3 separate regions of the Homo sapiens genome follow, and regions 2 and 3 are each linked to region 1. The links are contacts of gene promoters, found by promoter capture Hi-C in blood cells and fetal thymus (Javierre and others, 2016). All regions are on one chromosome and are shown on one strand. Each heading gives the region's core, a stretch centred on a gene start or on the middle of the fragment in contact. The rest is flanking DNA. Distances are from core to core; before and after follow the strand shown. Region 1 holds the start of LYPLA1 (lysophospholipase 1). Region 2 overlaps ATP6V1H (ATPase H+ transporting V1 subunit H). Region 3 overlaps ATP6V1H (ATPase H+ transporting V1 subunit H).

Region 1 (3,225 bases), core at 372-2,871:
GCGACAGAGAGAGCCCTTGTCTCTAAAAATAATAACAAAAGAAAAAAGCAAACAAACAAAAAATAAAATAAAAATAAGTAGTTAGTACAACAAATTGTTTGATAAGCCTCCAAATAAATCTTTGAGTTGCCTCCCCTGCCTTTCAACTCATTAGAGTGAACATCTAATCCCTCTATTCAGAATGCTGCATGCCTTATGTTGCCACTAGTTCTCTTATCAAAATCAACTAGTTCTTCTCTTCAATCTGCTCTGAAATTTTAACTGCTCTGGAAAGCTCTCAATTGCACACCGTCCCTACTAACATTCCACGGATCTCTGGTATCCAATACCCAAAGCAACTAATGAGGAATTTGAAATTTTAATATGTTCCAGAAACCAGAGTTAAAAAATCAATAAACTCACGATGATAAGGGGAAAATTCTGAGGGTTTTCAAAACATAAAATCACCGCACTGTAAGATACATTAACTGGCAATCTTAAAATACCATTTTAGCGCCCTTAAACATTAAACCTTTGAACGCGTAAACAAAAGTTGCATGACCCAGTTTCATTACTGTTACTATTAATAATAATGGTACCTACCCAGTATCTCCCAATCCATGCAGGAAAATCACCTATAAGAGAAGAGGAAAATTAATAAGCAATGCCTAAATAAGCCCACACAGGATTGTTACACACTAGCTTTGCTTAAGGTGGAAAACGGAACGAAACCTACGAGAGAATTACACAACACTATCTTCGGCGACTTAATCTTTATCGACCTCTTTTAAATGGCAAAAATTCTGATCAACTTCTCCCTTTATTTCCTGAGATAATGAATGGGGGGGGGGTAGCACTGAGAGGTCCCAGTTAGACATTGAGTGCAAATGATCACATTCTAAGAAAAACAGTTTATCTCTTTCAAGTGAAATCAGGAACATCTCACATATCCTGTAGAATTTTTCCACTGCAAAAGCAAGCTTCCGGAGGCAAAAATAAGTTTGACTTTTCATACACGAGTTTTCTAAAAAACAGTACGTCTGACCTTGTAGGACACTCAATCTTCAAACTTCTTTCATTGAGGATAAGAGTGCGAGGTGACAATAAGGCGATTTCCTGGCGGACTTAGGTTTCCCTCACCCACACACCAGGCAGAAACACGCTGCAGAGGCTGACGCCGTGCCCTAGGCCGGCCCGCGGGGGTCCCGGGGCCACACTTCCTCCGCAATGCAGGGAGGAGCTGGGGACTGGCCCTCGCGCCGGCTGTGACCCCCCGGCTGCCCCCGCCCCCCGCGGACCCGGCCGCGCGGACCATTCGCACCCCACCCGGGCCGGGAGGAGCGTCCTCGTCCGCAGGCCGCCACGCGCCCGCAACGCCCACCCCGCGCGAGGGGCAACCACCGGTGGCCGGCCCAGTGGACCCCTCCGAGCCCACGCCTACGCCACTCACCGCAGCGGTGGCCTTCCGGGCGGCGGGCACGATGGCGGGCAGCGGGGTTGACATGTTATTGCCGCACATACACCGCCTCAGCTCACAGCGCAAGCGGAAGGAAGAGCGGGCGCCCGGCCGCGGCCCAAGGGCGTGCGAGCGGCGAGTCCCGGCCGGCCCCACCGGGCGCACGCTCAGGCGCGTGCGCGCCAACGCGGCCCCGCGCTACCTTCCGCGCGCGCCCGCGCGTCCAGGGTCCGCCCTGCCCTGCCCCTCGCCCGCCGCCCCTCCCTCGGCACCTCACAATGTCCGGGCGGCTCCCTCCCTCCGATTGGCTGCGGCGGCAGCGCGGACCTGGCTGCGCTTTCGCCACACCACGCAGCCTGCGCATGCTCAGTGCTGGCTAGGGAAAATGTGCTCTCAGGTGCAGGCTGAGGGCTGGTCTCTTGGGTCTTGGTTTAGGTTTTTGCTTTTCTGGCGCTGTAGTGAAAAGAATGAGCCCCAGAGCCAATTCACCCAACCCAACCCCAGGTGCTCCTTGGTTTCCTGCGGCCGGGGTCTATCCATTTGTAAAAGTCTGGATGGACTGGGAGACGTTGATGGAGCTTTTGCAGTATTTCCGTTTGGGGCTACAGCAGTATGTAGATTTGGGTTCAACTTACCTTCTTTAAACTTTAGTTGGAAAGGGTAACATTTGTCACCAGAAATCCACTACTTCCCTAACTTGATCGACAACACTTACTGATGTACGGATATTGACACAGTACAGGTTTAAGTGAGAGGTAAAGCCAGCTGGTCTTCTGGGTCGGTTGGGGACTTGGAGAACTTTTCTGTCTTACAAGAGGATTGTAAAATGTACCAACAGCACTCTGTAGCTAGGATTGTAAAATGCACCAATCAGCACTTTGTGGCTAGCTAGAGGTTTGTAAAATGCACCAATCAGTACCCTGTAAAACGGGCTAATCAGTGTTCTGTAAAGTGGACCAATCCGCAGGACTTGGGCCGGGACAAATAAGGAAATAAAAGCTGGCCACGCCCCCCATCCCCTAGCTGGCAGTGGCAGCCCTGGGTCCCCTTCCACACTGTGGAAAGTTTGTTCTTTCACTCTTCACAATAAATCTTGCTGCTGCTGCTCACTCTTTGGGTCTGTGGGACCTTTAAGAGCTGTAACACTCCCAGCACTTTGGGAGGCCGAGGCGGGTGGATCAGGAGGTCAGGTGATCGAGACCATCCTGCCTTAACACGGTGAGACCTCGTCTCTACTAAAAATACAAAAAAAAAAAATTGGCCGGTCGTGTAGTCCAAGCTACTTGGGAGGCTGAGGCAGGGGAATGGCGTGAACCTGAGAGGCAGAGCTTGTAGTGACCTGAGATCGCGTCACTGCACTCCAGCCTGGGAGACAGAGAGAGACCTTGTCTCAAAAAAAAAAAAAAAAAAAAAAAAAAACTGTAACACTCACCACGAAGGTGACAAGCTTTATTCTTGAAGTCAGCGAGACCATGAACCCACCGGAAGGAACCAACTCTGGACACATAAGCATGAGACTAGACTGCCCTTTTCTGCACAGGTGCCTTTATGGCCTAAAATGTAGTTACTCAACAAATGTGTTGCATATCAACTACATGGTAAGATCTGGAAGAGAGCACAAGATAGAAACACTTAAAGCCAAAATGCCCTGACCTTCAGAAGTTTACAATTCAGTGAAGGACATACTGGAGGCCGGGCGCAGTGGCTCAAACCTGTAATCCCAGCACTTTGGGAGGCCGAGGTGGGCGGATCACGAGGTCAGGAGATTGAGACCATCCTGGCTCACACGG
Region 2 (3,152 bases), core at 263-2,762, 290 kb before region 1:
CTTCAGAGTCTCTGTGTGACCTCGGGCATGTTGGTATGTTTTTCTGTTTGGTCTCACTACTCATCCATAAAATGCGGCTAATGATATGACCTACATTGAACAGGGAGTGTAAATATTCAAGGAGATGTAAATGTAAAATGAGTAAGCGTCAGGCACATAGTTAAGTGCTCAATGAATATTAGCTGCTATATTAAGATTCCCCTATGGAAATATAAGAATCAAAGGAAGGGCTGACACCCTACTCTCAACACATGGAGGTCTGCTTTTCAAGTAGACAGCCATCTAAAAAAGTAAGAACTTCAGGAAGAGTCCAAAAATATGTTCAGGGTTGAGAGTCACTAAAGGGAAGAAGGTAGGAAACCAAAGGCCATCTTTTCCTAACTCACAATCACTCCTGATGTGAATTCCATTTGGGATGTATATGAATCTACCAGGTAAATCACTTAGACCAACACACCACCAATTCAGTTAATTTTGTTTTTCTAATACACTGCACAGAAAATAGCAAAATAAGGATGTCATGTCAGCAGAGTTTGCATTTCCTTATTTAAGCTTTAATAACTTAAAATACTTTGACAACCACTTAAATAAGTTTGTAAGTCTAAAATAAGCTAAATAATTTTTCAAACTGGTAGAAATTCAAGACACATGAAATGAAGACTCTCAATTTAAGCAAAATAAAGATTCTCAATGTAAACATCTGCTTCTGATTGAGAAACGAGGCTTCTTACCTACCATTTCCTCAGCCCACCATGGCCCCAGGATCGCGTATCTAGTTCTATACCTTGTTCTGATTCCACTTCAGAAGGCTAATAGCCATTTTCTGGCCTAACATATGAGTCATCAAACACTTCAACCCATGCTCCAAGAGAAGCCCAGCTTCAAAATGGATTTTGCTGCCATCTATGGTCTTGGAACATACATACCCGTGACATTCATTCAGATTATGGGAGTACCAGCAACCAATATGGATATTAAATGGCTCCTACAGAGCTTCACTTGGGTCTATTGCAGGCAGGTTACAGAAACTACCCTCTAAAGATACTTCCTAGTTTCCTAGTGATACTTTCAACAAAGGAAGCTAGACACACTTCTGTTTCTGTCTCCGTTTTCCCTAACTTTCTATCAACTGGCTCTCATCATGAACATCGTTAACTTGTCCAAACTTACTTCCAGTTCCTGAGCTATTCCTAGAGCACAGCAAAGTTCAGCCATTCCCAAATGGAAAACGTAACTTTAGCCAAGAAAGGAACTTGGGGAGCCATAATTAATCTTAATTATGTAGATTATTTATGTATTTATGTAGAGCCTTTTGGCTCTACAAAAATGTGGAAAGAAGGCCTGGCGTGGTGGCTCATGCCTGTAATCCCAGCACTTTGGGAGGCCAAGGCAGGCGGATCACGAGGTCAAGAGATCGACACCATTCTGGCCAACTTGGTGAAACCTCATCTCTACTAAAAATACAAAAATTAGCTGGGTGTGGTGGCGGGCGCTTGTAGTCCCAGCTACTCGGGAGGCTGAGGCAGGAGAATTAATTGAACCTGGGAGGCAGAGGTTGCAGTGAGCTGAGATTGTGCCACTGCACTCCAGCCTGGGGGATAGAGCTAGACTGTGTCTCAAAAAATAAATAAATAAATAAAAGTAACTGAATTTCTTTCAAATGTTTGACGCTTTTGTTCACCTTTTGATTAGACAGATATTAGACAGTTTAATCAGATAACTGAAGTTTAAAGAGAAAACTTTATGATTATTTGCTCCAGTTGTGCTTCTGAATTCTGATTTTTGCTTTGTTTCTCAGGTCTGAAACAAAAGTCACCTGGAAAAAAGAGCAACGGGAAAGAACAAGTCTTATGTCTACCACAGAAAAGATGATCTCCACAGACCATCAATATTTATATATAGTTTATAATACAATTAACCTAACTGGAGGTGACCATGGATTTATAGTTGGGGAACTAGTAAACACCTTCAAAATTTTAAGTGTATATGACTCAAAATAATTTATTTTGGGGATGTTTAGGCCAGTGAAGGAATATACTTACATCACTTGAAGAGACTGTTCCTGTTTCAACAGCAACACCGCTACCACGCAGTTTCTATTACGAAATAAATAACTCATTATTTAGTTTTGTTTTGATTTTATCCTAATGTATCAGCTTACAAAAGGGAGCTAAGCAAACTTTTCCCCTAATTCTATGTAATAATTTTTCCCCTATAATTTTATTCCTAATCCTACTAAATAAAAAGCAAGGGGATGACATAAAATGTTCTAAATATCGTTACATTCTTCCAGATAATATATTAATCAGTAAGTAGCTAAAAATGGAACAATAATAAACTGACTACTAAGCTCCAGGTAAATTTCATGGGTAAAGCTAGTGCAAATTTCCAAGTCTTAAGATTTACTTACTGAATTGTTTTTCCAGTAAAATGACTGCCTTAAATTGAACTATCCACACTATATTCTGTAGCAAAGCTTTCAAAAATAGGTGCCTGATGTCAGGAAGGTACAATATGTGACTTGGTTATCCACAGCAAAGCTAATGAATTATAATGACAATCAAAATCTCAAATGTCATATAGAAATGACCAAAGAAAATTTAAAGAAAGTCAGAGGCTGAAAGTGCAAGAGAAAAGCAATAATGAATTTCTGAAAGGAAATGTTAACTTTGTATCATTCAATAACTACTATCTATGAAGTACAGGCATGAGTCCCCACAACCCAAGTGCAACGCTCCAAACTACCCAAAAAGGCTTCAAAGGCCACTATAAGGTCAAAGAACAAAACATCTAAACTTGCAGCTAACTTGGACTTTTGAAAGTTTATTTCTATTAGAATCATGAAATTGTGGTACTTTTTGTGAGAGAGAAAAACACTTGTGACAGAGAAAAAAGAGACACTCTAGATGTAGCACTATCGCATGACAATTGAGCAAAGTAGCAAGTAATATCACAAATAATTGTTACTTTTTAAAACGAAGAGTCTGAATTTTAATCATGATAGAAGGCTATGAAGAAGTGCCTGCCCACAGCAAGAGGGACAGTGCAATGAGAGCCAAGCAGAAGCAGTAGCCAGACTAAGAAGCAAGGCCAGGCTAAGCCTGGGTACCCTGAAGAGTTCCCCTGCAGCAGAAGGACCCGCAAAGCAGAGG
Region 3 (3,480 bases), core at 610-3,109, 320 kb before region 1:
TGACCAACACTCAAGAGAAAAGTCAGTCAAGAAATACCAACCCTGAGATGAATTAGATGTTGGAGTTTGCAGAAAAAGATTTAAAGTAAACATTACGACTATGACCAAAGAAAAAAACGGTACCAATAAAAAAGCAAAAAAAGAAAGTTCAGTGGAGACACAGAAACTAAATTCCCAAATGGAAATCCTAGAAATAAAAACACAGATCATTTGAAATTTTAAAATTTACAAATGAGCTCAAAAGTGGACTGGAGATGACAAAGGAGTCAGTGAACATGAAGACAGAGCAACAGAAATTATTCAATTTCAGAGACAGATACAAAAAAATACTGTTTCTTCCCTCCCACAAACAAAGTGAACAAAGGCTCAGTGACTTGCAGTGCAATATCAAAAGGTCTAACATAAGTGGAATTAGAATGCCAGAAGGCAAGGATAAGTAAAAAGGTGCAAATGTATACCTGAAAATATAATGGCCAAAATTTTCCATCTTTAGCAAAAGATGCAACTCTACAAATCTGTAACTTCAGTAAATACTAGGAAATGTAGATACAAATAAAACTAAATCCAGACACATCAAAGTCAATCTTCAGAAAACCAAATATAGTAAAATTTTCAAAGCAACCAGAAAAAGATAACACATTATATACAGGGGAACAAAAATACAAAGGAAAGCTGACTTCTCATCAGAAACGATGGAGATGATTTTGCTGAGAGAGAGCATTAAAAAAAGAGAGAGAAAAATAAAGGAGAGAGGTCAGAAGTGGAACGATATCTTGAAAGTACCGAAAGAAAAAAAAAACAGAACTATATCCAGCAAAAATATCCTTCCAGAATAAAGGTAAACTAAAATCATTTTTTATAATAACCTGAGATAATCAGTCACCAGCAGACATACACTGGAAGATATCCGAAAGCAGGGATTGGCTAACATTTTCTGTAAAAGGGCGAAGAGTAAATATTTTAGGCTTTGCAGTCTCTGTCACAACTGCACAATTCTACTACTACGGTGCAAAAGCAGTCATTAAAAACCATAAACAAATGAGCAAAGCAGTGTTCCAATAAAGCTTTATTGATTAAAAACAGGTGGACCACATTTGGCCCATAGGCTTCCAAAGTTTGCTGATCCCTGGGCTAAAGAAAATTCTGCAGCTAAAGGAAAGTGATACCACAAGTGGAAAGCTGAGTGTCCAGAAAAGAAAAAAGAACTGTAGATATCATATTAATATATACCTGGATAAATATAAAACACTGTTTTTCCCTCTTTACTTCCATAATATACATGAGACTGCTTAAAGCACAAAACCCTGTATTGTAGGGCTTATAACATGTAAATACAGTAACATGACAACTGTAGCATAAAAGACTACAAGTGCTTACATTTTACATAAGGTAGTACAATAGAAAGGATGTGTATTGTGACTCCAAAATCACCTCTAAGAAATAAAATAGTGCAAAAACAAATAGTTAAAGACCCCAAAGAAATGTTATGATAGTTTTTAAAAATTTATTAATATATAACAGATGGACCTATTTGGGGAGTACATGTGACATTTTGATACAATCATATATAATCTATAATTATCAAATCAAGGTAATTGGGATGCCCACCACTTTAAACATTTATCTTTTCTTTATGTTGGGAACATTTGAATTATTATCTTCTAGCTATTCTGAAATATACAGTAGATTACTGTTTACTATCAACCTACTGAATTGTACAACATTAGGTCTTATTTCTTCTATATAACTGTATTTTTGTACCCATTAACCAATCTCACTTCATCCCCTCCTACCCTGGTACCCTTCTCAGCCTCTGACAACCGAAGACTATTCAGCCATAGAAAAGAATGAAATCCTGTCATCTGCAGCAACATGGACAGAACTGGAGGTCATTATGTTAAGTAAAATGAAATTTTTTAAAGGATGCACTTAACCCAAGAGAAAGCAAAAATGGAAGATAGAAGAACAAAAAACAGATAAGCAAACAGAAAACAAAGAGTAAAATGGTAGGCCTAAATCCAATCATATCAATAGTTATTGTAAATGCCAGTGAACTAGATACTCCAGTTAAGAGGCAGAAATTATTTGAATAGATAAAAGTTTAAGACCCAAGGATGTGTTGCCTAAAAGAGACAAACTAAATATGACACAGGTAAGTTGAAACTAAGAAGGAAAAAGATATAGCATGCAACCATAAGCGTAAGAATGCTGGAGTGATATTAACTTCAAATAAAGTAAACAAAGAGCATTACCAGTGATAAAGAAGGATATTTCACAATGATACAAAGTCCAGTTCATCAGGAAAATGTAGCATTCATTGTGTTTTAATTACAGAGCTTCAAAATTCATGAAACAAAAATTGACAAAACTGCAGGAAGAAATAGACAAATCCACAATAATAGCTAGAGATTTTAACAGCTCTCTCAGCAATTGATAGAACCACTAAACAAAAAAATCAGTACATAGAAGATCTAAATAACACTGTCAACCACCCTGACCTAAATGACACAGAACACAACTCCACTGGCAAAATATGCATTCTTTTAAGTGCACTTGGTACATCCACTATGACAGACTATAAGACAAGCCATAAAATGAGTCCCAAATTTCAAAGGATTGAAATCTTACAGAATATGTTCTTAACCGTAATGGAATTAAGCTTAAAAAGACCAGTAACTTTCTAATTTCTATTTGGAAATTTAACAATGCACTCCTATGTAATCCATAGTCAAAGAAGAAATCATGATATATGACACTAATATTATTACATGCTTGTCTCCTTTACTAAAGTGTGAGATCCTAGTAAATAGGACATACTAGATATCACAGATTATTTATAATTCTTCTCTTAACCCCCAGTTCCTTGTATAACTACTTCTACAAACTATTCTGTTTCAGAACACCTGTTATTTCTTTCTAAACAAATTATTTTCTGAGAGGGGAGGTGTAAATCTGTTAACCTCTTACTTATAAAACTCTTCCCCTCTTCCTTTCCTTTTGTGAGATTTCACTTATTTCTCTACTAAACTTTCGATGGTCTTTCCCAGTTACTTTTCCTATTACCTATCCTCTCCTCTAACTTTAGAAACATATCAAAGCTCTTTTGTTTATATGGTTTTGTTAATTTCATTACATGTATTTGTTGACCAGAGAATTAAACTCCATCTTTAAGATATTGTCGGCTGGACTTGATGGCTCACACCTATAATTCCAGCACTTTGGGAGGCCAAGGCAGGCGGATCACCTGAAGGCAGGGGTTCTAGACCAGCCTGGCCAACACAGTGAAACCCCACCTGTACTAAAAATACAAAAATTAGCCAGGCGTGGTGCTGCATGCCTGTAATCACAGCTACTCAGAAGGCTGAGGCAGGAGAATCACTTGAACACAGGAGGTAGAGGTTGCAGCGAGCCGAGATCATGCCACTGCATTCCAGCCTCGGTGACAGGGTGAGACTCCATCTCAAAAAAAAAAAAAAAAAA

What was found. The method cuts DNA at HindIII sites, captures the fragments that hold promoters and counts their contacts. A CHiCAGO score of 5 or more calls a contact.
Region 2: a contact is called between a fragment that was not itself captured here and the fragment with the promoter of LYPLA1 in region 1, in 2 of 17 cell types (M2 macrophages and M0 macrophages). The highest score is 5.5, in M2 macrophages.
Region 3: a fragment that was not itself captured here is called in contact with the fragment with the promoter of LYPLA1 in region 1 in 1 of 17 cell types (non-activated CD4 T cells); the score reaches 6.1 in non-activated CD4 T cells.

What each region holds. Positions count from the first base shown.
Region 1 is chr8:54,100,326-54,103,550 of GRCh38, forward strand. LYPLA1 (lysophospholipase 1) reads right to left here and starts at 1,622. Exons shown (of 9, transcript NM_006330.4): 1 at 1,430-1,622; 2 at 583-614. The coding sequence starts at 1,498. It overlaps LYPLA1-TCEA1 (LYPLA1-TCEA1 readthrough), which reads right to left and starts at 1,622. Exons shown (of 21, transcript NM_001425842.1): 1 at 1,430-1,622; 2 at 583-614. RefSeq lists a silencer at 1,176-1,745. The HindIII fragment of the contact is 1,923 bases long and covers 958-2,880 here.
Region 2 is chr8:53,809,122-53,812,273 of GRCh38, forward strand. ATP6V1H (ATPase H+ transporting V1 subunit H) reads right to left here. Exons shown (of 14, transcript NM_015941.4): 7 at 2,043-2,096. Among named protein-coding and RNA genes, the nearest start is that of ATP6V1H, 33 kb to the right of the region's middle. The HindIII fragment of the contact is 1,924 bases long and covers 551-2,474 here.
Region 3 is chr8:53,776,697-53,780,176 of GRCh38, forward strand. The region is part of intron 9 of ATP6V1H (ATPase H+ transporting V1 subunit H); the gene reads right to left. Among named protein-coding and RNA genes, the nearest start is that of ATP6V1H, 65 kb to the right of the region's middle. The HindIII fragment of the contact is 1,595 bases long and covers 1,063-2,657 here.